Linked DNA regions of Homo sapiens: region 1 is linked to region 2. The links are contacts of gene promoters, found by promoter capture Hi-C in human tissues and cell types (Jung and others, 2019). All regions are on one chromosome and are shown on one strand. Each heading gives the region's core, a stretch centred on a gene start or on the middle of the fragment in contact. The rest is flanking DNA. Distances are from core to core; before and after follow the strand shown. Region 1 overlaps EHD1 (EH domain containing 1). Region 2 holds the start of SNX15 (sorting nexin 15).

Region 1 (2,766 bases), core at 161-2,660, 160 kb after region 2:
TCATTGTTCAGCCGTCACCACCATCCAGCTCCAGAGCTCTTCACTTCCCAAATGGACACTCTTCCTGTTCAACACCAGCTCCCCTCGTGGCTCCCTGCACCCCGCAGCCCCTGCACTCCCCATTCTATATTCCTTTTCTGTGCACTTGATTACTCCTGGTATCTCCTGTCAGTGGAATCCTACAGTGCCGTATCTGTCCTTTTGTGGCAGGATGTTTTAAAAAAACTTTTAGGTTCAGGAGTACATGTACAGGTTTGTTATACAGGTAAATGGAGTGTGGTGGGGTTTGGTGTATAGATTATTTCATCACCCAGGTAATAAGCGTAGTATCTGATAGGTAGTTTTTCTTTTCTTTTTTTTTTTTTGGAGACAGGGTCTCACTCTGTCACCCAGGCTGGGAGTGCAGTGGCACAATCACAGCTCACTGTAGCCTCCACCTCCCGGGCCCAAACAATCCTCTTACCTCAGTGTCCCAAGTAGCTGGGAATACAGATGCATGCCACCACACCCAAATTTTTTTAAATTTTTGTAGAGGGGGGTCTCGCTATGTTACCCAGGCTGGACTCAAGCAGTCCTCCTGCCTCAGCCTCCCAGAGTGCTGCGATTACAAGCGTGAGCCACCATGCCCAGCCTGCTAGGCAGTTTTTCTGTCCTCACCCATTCCACCCTCAAGTAGGCCCTGGTGTCTGTTGTTCTCTTCTTTGTTGCCATGTGTACTCAATGTTTCACACCCATGGATGAGTGAGAACATGCGGTATTTGGTGTGGAACATGCGGTATTTGGTTTTCTATTCTAGTGTTAGTTTGCTGAGGATAATGGTCTCCAGCTCCATCCATGTTGCTGCAAAGGTCATGATCTTGTTCCTTTTTATGGGTGGATAGTATTCTCTGTGGTATATGTACCATGTTTTCTTTATCCAGTCTACTGTTGATGGGTATTTAGGTGGATTCCATCTTTGCTATCGTGAATAGTGCTGCAATGGACGTATGTGTGCATGTGTCCTTATGGCAGAATGATTTCTCTTCCTTAGGGTTTATGCCCAGTAATGTGATTGCTGAGTCGAATGGTAGTTCTGTTTTAAATTCTTTGAGAAATTGCCAAGCTGCTTTTCACAGTGGCTGAACTGGTTTACATTCCCACCAGCAGCGTATAAATGTTCCCTTTTCTCTGCAACCTCACCAGCATCTGTTATTTTTAGACTTTTTAATAATAGCCATTCTGACTGTTATGAGATGTTGTCTCATTGTGGTTTGATTTGCATTTCTCTAATGATTAGTGATGCTGAGAGTTTTTTCATATGCTCGTTGGCCGCGTGTGTGTCATCTTTGGAAAAGGTCACAGACTTATTTCATCACTTAGCATCATGTCTTCTAGGTCCCAGGATTTTCTGAGCTAGAGCTTCCTGGTGGCTTATGATCCCTTATCAGAGGGGGCTCTGGCTTTTACTCACTAAAACCACTCCCTCTGCAGGTGGGCCTTTCTCTCCAGCCCACCCGCTTGGGCCATGTTTTCTGTGTCCTTTTGCTCGGCATCAGTTCTGTCACTCCCACTGGGGCCTGAGCTAGTCAAGCTAACAGCAAGGCCCCTACCTTGGTGGGTGCCAAAGCCTGAAGTCTTGTTGCCTTGGGCAGTGCCGGGGGTGCTGGCAAGCCCTGTTCTGTACTTGATACCGGCCGTCCAGCTCTGATCTAGAGAGTGGCTCAGTGTTACCGCTGTGCAGTGTAGCCTTTGGCACCTCTTGAAACCCGGCGTCTTTTAGGCTGAGTGAGGTGCCTTTGAGGGCAGCGAGGGCCTGGTGGGCTAAGGAGCGCCGGTGGGCCTGGTGGGGCGTGCAGTTACGTGGTCACTGCCTGCATGGCACAGGCCTGAGTGCTGTGGCCCTTTTTGTCACCTGTGGGTGTGGCTGGCCAGTCACTGTGTTTCCCTCACAGCAAAAGCACATTTTCTGTAATAAACAGGAAATTTTAGTCACCTGCAAAGAAATGGGCTTACCTCTGTTGACTCCAGCTTGAGATGACGGCCAGTAACTGGGTTTCAGAGCAGGTGGGGCAGGGCTTCTGGACCTGGGGCAGGGAGTTTTGGAGTGCTCACTCTTCTTTCTTCCTTCCCCTCCTTTTTCTCTCTTTCCCCAGGGCCCCCCAGCCATCCAGGGGGAGGGGGGAGTGGGGCCTTGCTGGGTGGAGTTTGGGAGGGTGACCTCAGCTCCCCAGGCGCCGTCCTGACTCCCAGGCCAAAGCTAACATGGGCTGAGCACAGCCCATCAGGGCGCCCTCATTCCCAAGAACTCGGTTTTGGCATCACAGCCTCCCCAGCTGTGTGAATTCTAGTTTCAGCTTGTGGCGGGCTGAAGACAAATGATTTGACAAGGGGAGAAGCTGGGCCCCCTTTTTGCTGAGCGAGGAACCTCAGTCCTTGAGTCATCGCCTTTTCAGTACTGACCTGCGTTCCCAGAGCTGGCCATAAAAGGCTGTGGGCTGCGGGCCCCAGGCAGGCGCTGCAGGCTTAGCTAGTGTGGCCTCATCCCCCGGGGGCAGAGGCGGCCTCTCCCTGCCCCTGTTTCCCTCATGTTGCCCTTGGCCTCTCTTTCTGGTTTTCTGCCGAGACTTCACTCTTTGGGCATCCTCTCCTGTGGAGCTCAGAGCCAGCTGCAGGGAGTCCGGGTGCCCGGGGCCTTGTACTTTGGAAGCAGGAGCCTGTGGTGGCATGAGGTGCCCTGGCACGATGCCCTTCCACACCTTCTGGGCACAGGGAACCTGGCAGCTCTGC
Region 2 (2,959 bases), core at 235-2,734:
ATGGGGTTTCACCATGGTAGCCAGGATGGTCTCGATCTCCTGACCTCGTGATCCGCCCGCCTCGGCCTCCCAAAGTGCTGGGATTACAGGCGTGAGCCACCGCGCCCGGCCACCACTGGGAAGACTTATAATAAAAGGTTACAGTTCCTTGCCACATCCTCCCCACCCCAGCCCCACCTCCAGTCTATCTTCCCAGGGACAATCTATTTATTTGCTTTTTTTTTTTTTTTTTTTAAAGTTGTGTGTGTGTCTGTATTTTAATATTGATCCGGGGTCTCACTATGTTGCCCAGGCTCGTCTTGAGCTCCTGAGCTCAAGCAATCTGCTGCCTCAGCCTCCCAAAGTGCTGGGATTTACAGGCATGAGCCACTGAGCCCGGCCTTATTTGCATTATTTTTAGGCATGGAAAAGACGTAAACGGTTTGGGGAAAGCATATTTTAAATAGCTAAGATTCTGCACTTAGATCACTTTGGAAGTGTCCTTATGTGCCTGCTTTGCTTTTAGAGTTAACTAATGCACCAGCTTAATAGTCGCCTGGTTGAAAATTCTAAAAGTACAAAAAATTTACAGTAAAAAGTCTTCCCCTAACTCCTGTCCCCAGTGACACAGTTCCTCTCCCTGGGGACCTTCCTTGTTACCAGTTCTTGTTATCATTCTACAGGTGTCCTGTTTTACTGTTTCATTTTTAATTATTGTCATGGTTTCCTCCATGTCTCTCTATAAATTGTGCTTATGATGTTGTTATCGCTTCATATATCAACTCTAGCCTATCTATCTTCCTGCTGTGACCTTGATATGGCGACTTACTCCTTAAGTCCTTCTGAACTGCATCAATTTTTTTCAACCACTGATCAGTATTATTTTTTGAAAAATTAAAAATGGTTAAACTCGTTAAAGGGAGTTTATGTAACATCAAACAAACCAATAAACAAAACTTACTCTACGAGAATGGAGTACTAATATTTGGATTAAACCAGAGTTTTCATGTTAATTTAGAGAAATTCACAGCCTGATGCCCAGACACTACACTCCGGGCGTGGGCATACACGCCTTGCCTGTCCGGGAACGGCCGTCAACGCCCTTTTAAAAAAGACAGCGCCCACCCAGGACCCCGCCCCCTGGTGGTTAAAGATGTAAACTAAGCCTCGTACTGCAACCTCCCCTTAAAGGGGAAACCCATTTCTGTCGTCTAAAAAGGGAGCAGTGGCTGCACCGCCTTTCCTTAAGGTAAAACTCGGCGCCCCTCTAGTTAAAAGGGTAAAGTACGCGCTGGGCCCCACCTCACCTGCGCGGTTACTTTGTACTCGGTGTAGCCCTTGGGGTGAGTCCTGGGGTCCGACACTGTGTAGTGCCGCAGGAAGTCATCCTTCGCCTGGCGGGACATGAAACCGAGCTGGAGCGGAGCGGAGCGCCGGCCTCCACCTCCTCGCCGTCCCCACCCCTCCGGCCCAGCCTCCGCCCGCCGCCGCCTCGCCAGGCCTGCGCTCTTCTTCCTCTGGCCTAGGGATTTTGTCGCAAGTGACAGCGCTGTTCCGATCCCGGGTGCGCGGCCAAGGGAGCGTCTGAAAAGTTCCTTCTCTGTGGTGAAGCGTAAACCCAGGTCACTGGAAAGATTGGTTGGGAAGGCTGGGATCACTCGTCTCATTTCTGCCGGGTGATCAAGCCCACCCTATCCAAGCGTAAACCCTTGTCACAGACTTCCAAACGACTTCTCCCCGCTTCCTAAATCCCTGCTTTCGTTCATCCACCCAACTCTTATTGTGTCCAGTATGTACAGGACAACGTCAAATTATTTCCCTGTCTCCCTCCACAGGATTCCCTAATTCATGTTTTCTGGAAAGTAGAGGAAGCAAAGAAGGTTGGAGAAGCAGGATGGTGTCATGGGCTCTGAGTCACGACTCTTACTAGCTGTAGGAGTTTCCCTTAACTACTCAGCCTCAGTTTCTCATCTGTAGAATGGAGATGTTTATAATAGAATCTGTGTAGGGCAGTGGAGCTTTTTTGCGATGGGTTTGCTGCCAGAACACAGGTGTCGTGAAAACCACCGTTAAATCAAAGCCAAAATGGGGGTTTGGCGCGGTGGTTCACGCCTGTAATCCCAGCATTTTGGGCAGTGGAGGCAGGTGGATCACTTGAGGTCAGGAGTTCAAGACCAGCCTGGCCAACATGGTGAAACCCCGTTTCTACTAAAAATACAAAAATTAGCTGGGCGTGGTGGCGCACGCCTGTAATTCCAGCTACTCCAGGGGCTGAGCTGGCTGATGGCTTCAGCCCAGGAGGTTGAGGCTGCAGTGAGCTGCAATCACACCACTGCACTCCAGCCTGGGCAACAGAGTGAGACTCCATCTCAAAAGAAAGGGAGCAGGGGAGGGAAAAGACTCAGCTCAACATCATCATCTGATTTGGGCAAGTCCAGCACTACTGGCCATCTGATCTACAAGTGTGGTGGGATCCACAAAAGAACCATCGACAATTTTGAGGAAGCTGCTGAGATGGGAAAGGGCTCCTTCAAGCATACCTGGGTCTTGGGTAAGCTGAAAGTTGAACGTGAGAGTGGTATCACCACTGATACCTCCCTGCTGGCAATTGAGACCAGCAAGTACTATGTGACCATCCTCAATGGCCCAGGATGCAGAGACTTTATCAAAAACCTGACCTCAGGCTAATTGTGCTGTCCTGATTGTTGCTGCTGGTGTTGATGAATTTGAAGCTGGTAATTCCAAGAATGGGCAGACGCGTGAGCACACCCTTCTGTCTTACACGCTGGGTGTGAAACTAATTGTTGGTGTTAACAAAATGGATCCCAATGAGCCACCCTAAAGAGGAGAGATGGGGGCCGGGCGTGGTGGCTCACGCCTGTAATCCCAGCAGTTTGGGAGGCAGAGGTGGGTGGATTAGGAAGTCAGGAGTTCAAGACCAGCCTGACCAAGATGGTGAAACCCCGTCTCTACTAAAAAT

The links. The method cuts DNA at HindIII sites, captures the fragments that hold promoters and counts their contacts. A contact is called where the count stands out against the background at its distance.
Region 1: a contact is called between a fragment that was not itself captured here and the fragment with the promoter of SNX15 in region 2, in 1 of the 25 tissues and cell types used here (aorta).

Annotation. Positions count from the first base shown.
Region 1 is chr11:64,864,280-64,867,045 of GRCh38, reverse strand. All of the region lies in intron 2 of EHD1 (EH domain containing 1), which reads left to right. Among named protein-coding and RNA genes, the nearest start is that of MIR10392, 13 kb to the left of the region's middle. RefSeq lists an enhancer at 925-1,224. The HindIII fragment of the contact is 8,078 bases long and covers 1-2,766 here.
Region 2 is chr11:65,025,964-65,028,922 of GRCh38, reverse strand. It overlaps SNX15 (sorting nexin 15), which reads right to left and starts at 1,484. Exons shown (of 8, transcript NM_013306.5): 1 at 1,287-1,484. The coding sequence starts at 1,385. ARL2-SNX15 (ARL2-SNX15 readthrough (NMD candidate)) reads right to left here. Exons shown (of 11, transcript NR_037650.2): 4 at 1,287-1,605. It also overlaps the pseudogene EEF1A1P18. RefSeq lists a silencer at 1,353-1,522 and an enhancer at 1,372-1,666. The HindIII fragment of the contact is 29,710 bases long and covers 1-2,959 here.